2 separate regions of the Homo sapiens genome follow, and region 2 is linked to region 1. Evidence: promoter capture Hi-C in 16 types of primary human blood cells and fetal thymus (Javierre and others, 2016). All regions are on one chromosome and are shown on one strand. Each heading gives the region's core, a stretch centred on a gene start or on the middle of the fragment in contact. The rest is flanking DNA. Distances are from core to core; before and after follow the strand shown. Region 1 holds the start of SULT2A1 (sulfotransferase family 2A member 1). Region 2 has its middle 20 kb from the start of PNMA8C.

What was found. The method cuts DNA at HindIII sites, captures the fragments that hold promoters and counts their contacts. A CHiCAGO score of 5 or more calls a contact.
Region 2: a fragment that was not itself captured here is called in contact with the fragment with the promoter of SULT2A1 in region 1 in 1 of 17 cell types (total B cells); the score reaches 5.3 in total B cells.

The regions. Positions count from the first base shown.
Region 1 is chr19:47,883,193-47,889,615 of GRCh38, reverse strand. It overlaps SULT2A1 (sulfotransferase family 2A member 1), which reads left to right and starts at 3,301. Exons shown (of 6, transcript NM_003167.4): 1 at 3,301-3,494; 2 at 5,831-6,039. The coding sequence starts at 3,359. The HindIII fragment of the contact is 7,780 bases long and covers 2,991-6,423 here.
Region 2 is chr19:46,445,249-46,451,671 of GRCh38, reverse strand. No RefSeq gene overlaps it. Among named protein-coding and RNA genes, the nearest start is that of PNMA8C, 20 kb to the right of the region's middle. The HindIII fragment of the contact is 2,746 bases long and covers 2,698-5,443 here.

The DNA of each region.
Region 1 (6,423 bases), core at 2,052-4,551:
TCAAGGTCATCAAAAATGAGGAAAGTCGGCCAGGCGCAGTGGTTCGCACCTGTAATCCCAGTACTTTGGGAGGCCAAAGTGGGCGGATCACCTGAGGTCAGGAGTTCGAGACCAGCCTGGCCAATATGGTGAAACCCCGTTTCTACTAAAAATGCAAAAATTAGCCGGGTGTAGTGGCGCGTGCCTGTAATCCCAGCTACTCGTGAGGCTGAGGCAGGAGAATCACTTGAACTGGGGAGGCAGAGGCTGCAGTGAGCCAAGATTGTGCCACTGCACTCCAGCCTGGGCAGCAGAGCAAGACTCCATCTCAAAAAAAAAAAAAATGAGGAAAGTCTGAGCAACAACTGTCACAGCCAAGAGGAGCCCAAGGAGACAGGATGAGTGTATGTCATGTACTATACAGGATGGGATTTTGGGGCAAAAAAAGGGCATGAGACAGTGAGCCAGGATCATGCCACTGCACTTCAGCCTGGGCAACAAAGAGAGAACTCTGTCAAAAAAAAAAAAAAAAAACACGAGCATGAGATAAAAACTAAGGAAATCCAAATTAAGTATGGACTATGGGAACTCTCTGTACTCTCTTTGCAATTTTTCTGTAAGTCTAAAAGTGCCCTAAAAAATGAGGCGTATTAAAAATATTTTTTTCCTGTTTGGGAAGAGTTTAGAAACTGGAAATACTAGATTCAGGAGAAGGGCAGACTTGCTTGATAAGGGACCGATGTTTGTGCAGTAATTTGGAGTGTGGTTTGTTTTTGAATCTTTAATTAAATCCTGGGATTGGCCGGGCGCAGTAGCTCACACCTGTAATCCCAGCACTTTTGGAGGCCGAGGCGGGTGGATCACGAGGTCAGGAGTTTGAGACCAGCCTGGCCAACATGGTGAAACCCCATGTCTACTAAAAGTACAAAAATTAGCCAGGCGTGGTGGTGGGCGCCTGTAATCCCAGCTACTCAGGAGGCTGAGGCAAGAGAATCGCTTGGACCCAGCAGGCGGAGGTTGCAGTGAGCCCGAGATCATGCCATTGCACTCTAACCTGGGTGACAAGAGCAAGAGTCCATCTCAAAACAATAAATAAATAAATAAAATTAAAAAGTAAAACCTGGGATTATATATCGCTGATAGATATTCACGCTTGAACCACAGTTACTATAAAATGCAAAAATTCTTAATACTGTTATTCTTTGCACTTTTTCTTAATCATTTTATATATATGCATATATATATGCGCATATATATATGCATATATATATACATATATATCTTGTTTAGGTTGTTTTGTACAGATGTGGGCCACCATTGCAACAAAATAAATTCTTTTTGCTCTAAAATATTTATAAAGAAAATACTTAAATGTGATGTACAGGGTGGTAATAAGGGAAAAATCAAGTATTATAAACAAGAATGAAGGCTTTTTTTCTTTCCTTTTTTTTTTTTTTTTTTTTGAGACGGAGTCTCGCTCTGTCGCCCAGGCTGGAGTGCAGTGGCGAGATCTCGGCTCACTGCAAGCTCCGCCTCCCGGGTTCATGCCATTCTCCTGCCTCAGCCTCCTGAGTAGCTGGGACTACAGGCACCCGCCACCACGCCCGGCTAATTTTTTGTATTTTTAGTAGAGACGGGGTTTCACCGTGTTAGCCAGGATGGTCTCGATCTCCTGACCTCGTGATCCGCCCGCCTCGGCCTCCCAAAGTGCTGGGATTACAGGCGTGAGCCACCACACCGTGCCCAGACCAAGAATGAAGGTTTTTGTAAAGATTTCTGTTCAGTGTTTTGCAAGGTAAAATTCTAGGCACGTTTTCCCTGAAGTTATGTGTATGTGAGTATTCTCATTCTTCCCAACTTGCCTTTGAAGAGTGAAAAAACATTATTATCAAGTAGACTTCTATTCAGCTTTTGCTCCTGCCCTGCTGTTTATCCCTTAAGAATGAGTTTCTTGGACTTTCCCAATATGTGATTTTTTTTTCCCATTTAGAATGGTGATTTTAAATGTGTGAGTGCATGCATTATCTTATCTCAGATATTTGCACCCCCAATCCACCCCCATCTCCCTAAAGCTAGAACACTGCCAACTGATCTGTTGTATAGGTCCTTTAGAAACACATAATTAGGCTGGGCGTGGCGGATCACAAGGTCAGGAGATTGAAACCATCCTGGCTAACACGGTGAAACCCCGTCTCTACTAAAAATACAAAAAATTAGCTGGGCGTGGTGGCGGGCACCTGTAGTCCCAGCTACTCTGGAGGCTGAGGCAGGAGAATGGCATGAACCCAGTAGGCAGAGCTTGCAGCAAGCCGAGATCGCGCCACTACACTCCAGCCTGGACGACAGAGTGAGACTCCATCTCAAAAAAAAAAAAAAAACAAACAAACACATAATTAACACTTAAGGTTGGGTGCTGCCAATTCTTTGTGAAAATCCAAATATTATTAAGGAAACAGGGAGATGCCACTACCTCTTGATTTTCCATCTAAAAACATACATGTTTATGCAAACAAATCTTTCCATATTCATAGTGACTTTTCAAGTATTTGAGTCTAAAGATTTTCATCTCACATTTTTATACCGTTTAAATTGTTCACAATTATTACATACACGTCAGCCATCAACTAAAGTTGTACTTTAAAAATTTACTACAATATATACACTGCTAATATTTGTACTTACTCTTTTTTTCTCTAGAGTGGAGGTATAATTGTGTGATACTTCAGAAATACAGATAAATGATTCAAAAAGTCTCAGGGAGAATAATGTTTCTTTGATCGTGAATAACTGATTAGTAATTCTTGCCTATATTTTCCTGAGAGCATATGACAAATGTTTCTAAGGTAACAAGATGAGAACAGATAAAGACTGTGTGGTCTTTTGGATTTGGAGAGACATATTTTAATTTTTAAATGCAGTTACAAATTATAATGTATTCATATTTGTACTTTCTGTTAAAATGCACGATTGCAGGATTATTTAGATTTTGTGTTTATGCTTGATGAAAAGCTTTGTTCTTGTTTTTAAGTTTGCACTCAAACCTTAAGAAATAAATTCACCCATATTATCAAAAAAAATATTTGTCCTCGTGTTTGTTATTCGATCTTGCAGTTCACTCTCAGGAACGCAAGCTCAGATGACCCCTAAAATGGTCTCTAGATAAGTTCATGATTGCTCAACATCTTCAATCTTTTGAGTATGGGTCACATTATACCTCTCTTTATCAGCAAGTAAACTTTACAACAAACATGTGACATGCTGGGACAAGGTTAAAGATCGTTTTATCCTTGCTGTAAAAGCTGATCTGCCTGTAGCTGCCACAGCCTCCAGCGGTGGCTACAGTTGAAACCCTCACACCACGCAGGAAGAGGTCATCATCATGTCGGACGATTTCTTATGGTTTGAAGGCATAGCTTTCCCTACTATGGGTTTCAGATCCGAAACCTTAAGAAAAGTACGTGATGAGTTCGTGATAAGGGATGAAGATGTAATAATATTGACTTACCCCAAATCAGGTAAGGAGGCAGAATCGTGAACTGAGAAAGGCTGTGGTTGTGTTCCTGTCCATTCAGTGCATGATTGGAGTTCTTCCTTTATGTCAGACAGTGTACAATGCTTTAAGGGGAAGAGAGGAATGCCTAATACCATTGACAATCAGAGAAAAGGATTTAGTCAGGAAATTACACAGTAGGATGAGTGTTCAGAGGGGTAATCTAAGGTATTAGGAGAATCCACAGGAGTGAATCCCAAGGCAAATTCAGGTGTTTGTTTGGTGGCAGTGGGAGGGAGGATGGCTGAGGATGACCAATGATGTCCTGAAAGAAGAAATAGCATTTAAATGGAAATGCAAAGAATGAGTATGAAATTACTTGGGGGGAGGGCTATTTTCAGATAGGAGAATCATCAGGGCAATGGCCAGGAACCACAAAAGAGCCAGGCAATCTCAAGGGGCTGAAAGATGAGGATCATATGTCTCTGGGAGTGGGGCTGTGGGTGGAGGGCGGTAAGAGCACTGCGGATGCGGTGAGGATTGAGGCTGAAGACATTGGAAGTGGCATGGCCCTGAGAGGCCAAGAGCAATGGGAACATAATAAGAGGGATTTCAGCAAATAGCCAAAAGATGGAAGCAACCCAGATATCCACTGACAGGTGAGTGAATAAACAAAATGTGGTATATAGCTATAATGGAATGTTATTCATCCTTGAGAAGGAAGAAAATTCTGATGCATGATACAACAGAGATAAACATCAAGGACATTATGCTAAATGAAATAAGCCAGTCACAAAAATACAAATAGTGTGTGATTCCACTTACATAAGGTACCTGGAGTCATCAAGTCCATAGAAACAGAAAGTACACTGGCGGCTGCCAGGGGCTGAAGAGAAGGGTAAATGGGGAGTCGGTGCTGGCTCTGCATAGAGTTTCGGTTTTGCAACACAAAAATCCTCTGGAGATTGGTTGAGCAGCACTGGGAATATACTTAACACTTAACACTACGAAACCGTAGGCTTAAAAGTGGTTGACAGGCTGGGCATGGTGGCTCATACCTGTAATCCCAGCACTTTGGGAGGTCAAGGCAGGTGGATTGCCTGAGGTCAGGAGTTCGACACCAGCCTGGCCAACATGGCAAAACCCCGTCTCTACTAAAAATAAAAAATTAGCCAGGCGCTGTGGCGCACGTCTGTAGTTCCAGCTACTCGGGAGGCTGACCAAGAGAATCACTTGAACCCAGGAGATGGAGGTGGCAGTGAGCCAAGATCATGCCACTGCACTCCAGCCTGGGTGACAGAGCAAGACTCTGTCTCAAAAAAAAAAAAAAAAAAAAAAAAAAGTGGTTGAGAGCTGGCTGCAGTGGCTCACGCCTACAGTCCCAGTGCTTTGGGAGGGCAAGATAGGCAGATTGCTTGAGGTCAAGCGTTCAAGACCAGCCTGGGCAACATAGCAAGGCCTGATCTCTACAATAAAATTTTTTCAAAAAATTAGCCCAGCGCGATGGCACATGCCTGAGGTCTCAGATACTTGCGAGGCTGAAGCAGGAGGCCGAAGTACAAGGATCACTTGAGCCCGAGTTCAAGGCTGCAGTGGGCTATAATTGCACCACTGCACTCTAGCCTGGGCTACAGAGGGAGACCTCATCGCTAAAAAAAAAAAAAAAAAAAGCCAGGCGCAGTGGCTCACGCCTGTAATCCCAGCACTTGGGGAGGCCGAGGCAGGCAGATCATGAGGTCAGGAGATCGAGACCATCCTGGCTAACATGGTGAAACCCCATCTCTACTAAAAATATATTAAAAAAAAAATTAGCCAGACGTGGTGGTGGGCGCCTGTAGTCCCAGCTACTTGGGAGGCTGAGGCAGGAGAATGGCATGAACCCGGGATGCACAGCTTGCAGTGAACTGAGATCGTGCCATTGCACTCCAGCCTGGGTGACAGAGCAAGACTCTGTCTCAAAATAAATAAATAAATAAATAAATAATAAAAAAATTAAGGTTGAGATGGTACTTTTTTTTGTTTTTGTTTTTGTTTTTTTTTTTGAGACTGAGTCTCACTCTGTTGCCCAGGCTGGAGTGCCATGGCACGATCTCGGCTCACCGCAACCTCCGCCTCCCAGGTTCAAGCAATTCTCTGCCTCAGCCTCCCAAGTAGCTGGGATTTTAGGCGCCCGCCACCATACCTGGCTAATTTTTGTATTTTTAGTAGAGACGGGGTTTCACCATCTTGGCCAGGCTATTCTGGAACCCCTGACCTCATGATCACTTGCCTCAGCCTCCCAAAGTGCTGGGATTACAGGCGTGAGCCACCATGTCCGGCTGAGATGGTACATTTTATATATTTTTTTCCTTCTTTTTCCAGGAACAAACTGGTTGGCTGAGATTCTCTGCCTGATGCACTCCAAGGGGGATGCCAAGTGGATCCAATCTGTGCCCATCTGGGAGCGATCACCCTGGGTAGAGAGTGAGATTGGGTATACAGCACTCAGTGAAACGGAGAGTCCACGTTTATTCTCCTCCCACCTCCCCATCCAGTTATTCCCCAAGTCTTTCTTCAGTTCCAAGGCCAAGGTCAGTGCATAATGGTTAAGACGTGTTTGATCAGTGCCTTTCAAACACTGATATGCCTATAAGTCATCTGGAGATCTTGCTGAAATGCATTCTCCTTCAACAGGTCTGTGTTGTTGAGACCTGAGATTCCGTATTAGGTGACACCTATGTGGCTGCTCCCAGAACTGTCCTTGAGTTCAAGGATATAGACCATTCCACAGATTACCCCAGCCAGATTTAAACCAGGGATAGGGTGAAAACACTAACCCAGAATCTTAGAAAACTAGGTTCTAAGTGCAATCAGAATGTATAGCCATATTATATACTAGATAACCGCCTTTGGTTGCCCTAAAAAATAATTAGCCAATCTGAATTCAACAAATGCCTCCTGCCACAGAAAAGACA
Region 2 (6,423 bases), core at 2,821-5,320, 1.4 Mb after region 1:
GGGAAATACCCTGAACGTAGCACTGTGAAGCCACCTAGAACAGCAAACCCTTGTGTTCAAATTCATTAGACAATCACTTGTTGTTATAAAGCTCTCAGGTCACCATGGCCGGATGAACCCTTGGCAGATGCTCCTGTCATTTCTTGAAGCCTGAGGAATGGGAACCGTGGCAGCTGCTGGCTTGGACAATCTGACATACCAGGACATGCCCAGGCCTGGATCGGCAGGGCTATGAATGGCTTATTCAGCGACAGATTGGCAAGAGTAAATCAGGTTAAATGAAAGCTTTATACCAGACCCAGAGAAAAAGAAAAATAAAGAAAAAAAAGAATGACTGTGACTGTAACCTATAACGTGGTCTTGGCTCCTAAAGCATTTTATTTTTAGGTGGCAGTGGTTTTGTTTTTATTGAATAAAGAGCCATATAAAGATGAAAACAAGAACTGACCTATCATCCTGTTGCTAAAACAGCCCACATAGACATTTTAAAATAAGATATGCAGAGTGTTAGACATTCCAGCTGTACAAAATTAGAAACGGAGAGTGCCCCGTCTGCTTCTCCCCAACCTCCCACAAAAGCCATAGCAGGTTCTCGTTTTCCTTCAAAAGAGAAAAAATGTTTTTGTATATTCCAGCATAGAGCTCTCTATACGGACATATACATGCGTGTATATATGTATATGTGTGTCTATGGGTGTGGGCATGAATTTGTGTGTATGTCTATAATTCTGTGTCTAAGTGTATGTTTGTGTATATATGTGTGTAAATTTATGTATATGTTTGCTTTTCTGTGTCTATGTATATTTATGTACATATGTATATGTGCATATATAAGTGCATTTATGTGTATATATGGGTGGATATATACATATGTATATGAGTATGTTGTATGTATTTGTGCATGTGTGATATATGAATGTATATATGTTTGTGTATATGTGTGTATATATGTATGAGTGTATGTATACACATATATATAAGTTTAAACAAAAGCAATTATAACTATTAAGACTTTGGGCCAGGCACGGTGGCTAATGCCTATAATCCCAGCACTTTGGGAGGCCAAGGCAGGTGGATCACTTAAGGTCAGGAGTTCAAGACCAGCCTGGTCAACATGGTGAAACCCCATCTCTACTAAAAATACAAAAAATTAGTTGGGTGTGGTGGCAGGTGCCTGTAATCTCAGCTACTTGGGAGACTGAGGCAGGAGAATCGCTTGAACTGGGAGGCAGAGGTTGCAGTGAGCCGAGATTGTGCCACTGTACATCAGCCTGGGCGACAGAGTGAGACTCAGTCTCAAAAAAAAAAAAAAAAAAGACCTTGATGTGCTTCACATTTGCTTTTCTTGGAGAGAAGAAGGTCTTGTAAGACGAGTACCAAAACTAGAACAGAAAAGAAAATATAGCTACATATGACTTCATAAGAATTAATACCTTTTGTATGGCAAAAAATAACCACAAAAAACTAAAAGGACACATTTCTTTTTCTTTTCTTTTTTTTTTTTCAGACAGAGTCTCGCTCTGTTGCCCAGGCTGGAGTGCAGTGGCGCGATCTCGGCTCACTGCAAATTCCGTCTGCCGGGTTCACGCCATTCTCCCATTTCTTTTGTTTATTGTCTTTCTCCCTCCCTAGATTGAAAGTTTCCTGAGGGCTCAGGGCCGAGGCAGGAAGTGTTTATCTGTCTGGTTCATGCTGAATCTCCAGCAGTAATAGTGCCTGGAACATAATAAATGCTCGATAAATATTTGTTGGACAAATGAATACTTTGCCTACACTTTTGAAACTGACCCAATAGTCCCATAGATAGTTTTTTGGATAAACATAGGAAACTGACCCTTCTGGTCTTTAAGCTTGAGACTTAATTTGTTTTATCTGAGTTCCTTTCACTTTCAGGCATCTCAAAAACAAAAAGTATCAAATAACTGAAACTTACCAGATCATCACATCCAGACAATGAGATAATGGACCTCTCATTCATCATGACTGCTTCCTTGCCCCTCCCTAGTTCCTGTTTTCTTACACATTGTTACATTTCTTCCCTGTTATTTAAACCCCTGATTTTAGCTGGTCAAGGAGATGGATTTGAGATTGAACCATCTCCTCAGCGGCAGCGCCCAATTAAAGCCTTCTTCCCTTATTGGCTTTCTGTGCTGTGAGCAGCATGACCTAGACCAAACCCCTGGTGTTTTGGTAACACTTTGAAGATAATGATAGCTAATATTGTCAAGCACTTGCTGAGTGCCAGCAACCATCCTAAACACTTGATGTATCTGTGTCCAATAGCCTCAGTACAACGCTGCAGGGATTCAGTTATCACTGATTCACAGTTTCAGAAACAGAGTCCCCAGGAGATAAAGAAACTTGCTGTCTCGGGCCGGGCTTGGTGGCTCGTGCCTGTAATCCCAGCACTTTGAGAGGCTGAGGTGGGCGGATCACCTGAGATCAGGAGTTTGAGACCAGCCTGACCAACATGGTGAAACCCCATCTCTACTAAAATATAAAAAATTAGCCGGGCATGGTGGTGGGTGCCTGTAGTCCCAGCTACTTGGGAGGCTGAGGCAGGAGAATCGCTTGAACCCAGGAGGCAGAGGTTCCAGTGAGCCGACATCACCCCACTGCACTCCAGCCTGGTGACAGAGCAAGACTCTGTCTCAAAAAAAAAAAAAAAAGAAAAAAAGAAACTTGCTGTCTCAAGCTTCTGTCACTGTAACAAATTACCATAAATGGATTAACTTAAGGCAACACAAAATTTATTGGCTGCCAGTTCGGAAGGTTACAAGTCTGAATGGATGAGCAGGGCCGTGTTCCTTTGGAGGCTCCAGGGAAGAGTACGTGTCCTCACCTTTCCCAGAGTACAGGGGCCACCTGCATTCCTTGGCTTGGGGCCGTTTCTTGCATGACTCCAAACCCTGCTTCCATTGGCACGTTCCCTTTTCCGATTCTGACCCTCTCGTCTCCCTCTTTTCTTTTTAAATTTTATTTATTTATTTATTTATTTATTTATTTATTTAGACAGAGTCTTGCTCTGTCGCCCAGGGCAATCTTGGCATACTGCAATCTCCGCCTCCCGGGTTCAGGCGATTCTCCTGCCTCAGCCTCCTGAGTAGCTGGTACTGTAGGCACTTGCCACCACACCTGGCTAATTTTTGTATTTTTAGTAGAGATGGGGTTTCACTATGTTGCCCAGGCTGGTCTTGAACTCCTGAGCTCAAGCCATCCTCCTGCCTTGGCCTCCCAAAATGTTGGCATTATAGGTGTGAGCCACTGAGCTTGGCCTTCTTTATAAAGACCTTTGTAATGACATTGGTCCCACCCAGATAATTCAGGATCATCTTCCAAGTCCCTTTTGCTACATGAAGTCACCTATTTACAGGTTCCAGGACTTAGGAGGTGGTTGTATTTGAGGACCATTATTCAGCCCTCAAATCATGGGGTGGAGACTGTGCCCATGACAGGCCCTGTTGGCTCTCGTGCCCAGAGCCAAACTCCAGCCCAGCTTCAGAGGCCCTGCAAGTTCTGGGCACTGCTTTCCCTCCAGGCCCCCAGCTCCCCAGCTCCTCACCCCTGCCTCTGGGCTCCAGTTCCTGGAAGGTAACTCGTTTCCTTTGGCCATGGCCTGGGAACAGGCTTCCAGGCCCTTCCCTCCCCTGCAGCCTGGCCTGGCCATGCTGGGTTCCTGGAGTTCAGCTCACAGGGACCAGGTGGCCAGTTGGAAGGGCAGACAGGCCACCCAGCACCAGATTCCAGGACCCCGAGAGAACCGGGGAACCAGAGTGCCTGGGGATTTGCAGACAGACTGTGAACTGGGCCATACTTATCTTTCCCCCTCCCATGCGAAAGCCATTTCCTCCCACGAAGCAGGAAAAATCTCAGCCAGCCTCTGGGATTTCACTGAAAACCCAGCACCACAAACCTCAAACATGGAGTCCTCCTGTTTTTCTAGTAAGTTTTTTTCTCCAAGACGGCAGCTTCTGAGTCTCCTCTCTCCTCAAGACTCCCAGTGCCCTGAACCAGCCTGAATCTTCACCCACTGATCTTCCATCTAAAAATAAAACACATCTGTACAATAAAATGTCATTTATCAAGAACAGAGCACAGAGGACTGGGTACTGTGGCTTACGCCTGTAATCCCAGCACTTCGGGAGGCTGAGGCTGGAGGATCTCTGGAGGCCAGGAGTTTGAGACCAGCCTGGACAACATGGTGAAAGCCCATCTCTACTAAAAATACAAAAAAATTAGCCAGGCATGGTAGTGCAAGCCTGTGATCCCAGCTGCTTGGGAGGCTGGGGCAGGAGGATCGCTTGAGCCCAGGAGGATTGCTTGAGCCCCAGGAGGTCAAGCACAGAGAAGTATTATGGAGTACTGTTTAAGAGTGTGAATTCTGCTGCCCGATTGCCCACCTTTAAGCAGCCCTGCTTCTTACCAGCTGTGTGACTTTGGGGAAGGTGATTGCCCTCTGTGCCTGCTTCCTCATTTGTAAGATGAGGATGACAGAATATAACAGTAGCTACCTCAAAGGCTTTTCATGCAAATGAAGTATTTGCAAAGTGCTTGGAACAGGGTCAGGCATATAGTAAGCATCATCTACATTTTTGTTAAATAATAAAATTTGTTTCTTCAGCTTCTTACCAGGAAATCTGCATTTGCTGGACGTGTGTGCCCTTGTCCTTCTCTCCTGCCCCTTGGAGGACGTTTCTGTGCTTCATATTGAAAGCCAGTCCTGTGGCCAGGCACGGTGGCTGACGCCTGTAATCCCAGCACTTTGGGAGGCCGAGGCGGGTGGATCACTTGAGGCCAGGAGTTCGAGATCCAGCCTGGCTAATATGGTGAAAACCTGTCTCTACTAAAAATACAAAAATTAACCGGGCGTGGTGGCGGGTGCCTGTAATTCCAGCTACTTGGGAGGCTGAGGCAGGAGGATCGCTGGAGCCTGGGAGGCTGCAGTGAGCCATGATTGCACCACTGCACTCCAGCCTGGGTGACAGAGTGAGACCCTGTCTCGAAAAGGAAAAAAAAAAAAGGAATTTTTCTCTCTCTCTTTATTTTTTTTTACAGTGTTATACACCTTGCTTTATTAAACAGTGTTTTGTGAGGATGTCAGCAAATCATTTCATACAAAGGAAATCTTCCCATCTCAGCACATAGAGAACTTCCTCCTTATTTCGTGTAACCATGCATAGTATTCTACTACACGGATGCGCCACAATTTATGTTTGTGTACCACTAAGCATAGTCCTCTATAAATGGATACACTCCAATTCCAACCGATTGCTGTTACTCTCTTTAGTTTTCCAAACACTCACTCTTGGGCTTCCCCCCAGCCCTCTTCTGCTGTCTCCTGGATTCTTTGTCTGCTGTCTGACACTGACACGCTGGGACTGCCAGAGGCATGGGCTTGGGCCATCTCTTCGTCTTTCCCCACACCCTTTCCCTAGATCAAGCTTCTCCAACTTGCGGCCCGTGGGCTGCATGCGGCCCAGGATGGCTCTGAAGGTGGCCCAACACAAATTCGTAAACTTTCTTAGAACATTATGAGATTTTGGCCGGGTGCGGTGGCAACGCCTATAATCCCAGCACTTTCGGAGGCTGAGGCGAGCGGATCACCTGAGGTCGGGAGTTCGAGACCAGCCTGACCAACATGGAGAAACCCTGTTTCTACTAAAAATACAAAATTAGCCGGGTGTGGTGGTGCATGCCTATAATCCCAGCTACTTGGGAGGCTGAGGAAGGAGAATCACTTGAACCCAGAGGTGGAGGTTGCAGTGAGCCGAGACTGGGCCATTGCACTCCAGCCTGGGCAACAAGAGCGAAACTCCGTCTCGAAAACAAAAAACAACAACAACAACAAAAAATGAGATTTTTTTTTTTTGCGATTTTTTTTTTTTTTTAGCTCATCAGCTATTGTTAGTGTTAGCGTATTTTATGTGTTGCCCAAGACAATTCTTCTTCCAGTGTGGCCCAGGGAAGCCAAAAGATTGGACACCTCTGGCCTAAATGAGCTCATCTAGCTCCATGGCTTAAGATATTTCCCGTGTGCCAATGGCTTCTAAATTTTTATCTCCACCCCATCTCTGAACTCCAGGCTCATATATCTAACTCGGCTTGGAAGCCTACAAGGCATATCAAATTTAAGACATTCAAAATGGGATTCCCCACTCCCAAGTTCATTTTCCCTAGAGCTTCCTCATCTCACTGAATGGACGCACCATCATTCTAACAGTTCAAGCCCAAAGCTGAGTCAATTAAAAAAAACAAAAAACAACAACAACAAAAAAGCCGGGCGCGGTGGCTCACGCCTGTAATCCCAGCACTTTGGGAGGCTGAGACAGGTGGATCACCTGGGGTCGGGAGTTTGAGACCAGCATGACCAACATGGTGAAACCCCATCTCTACTAAAAACACAAAATTAGCCGGGCATGGTGG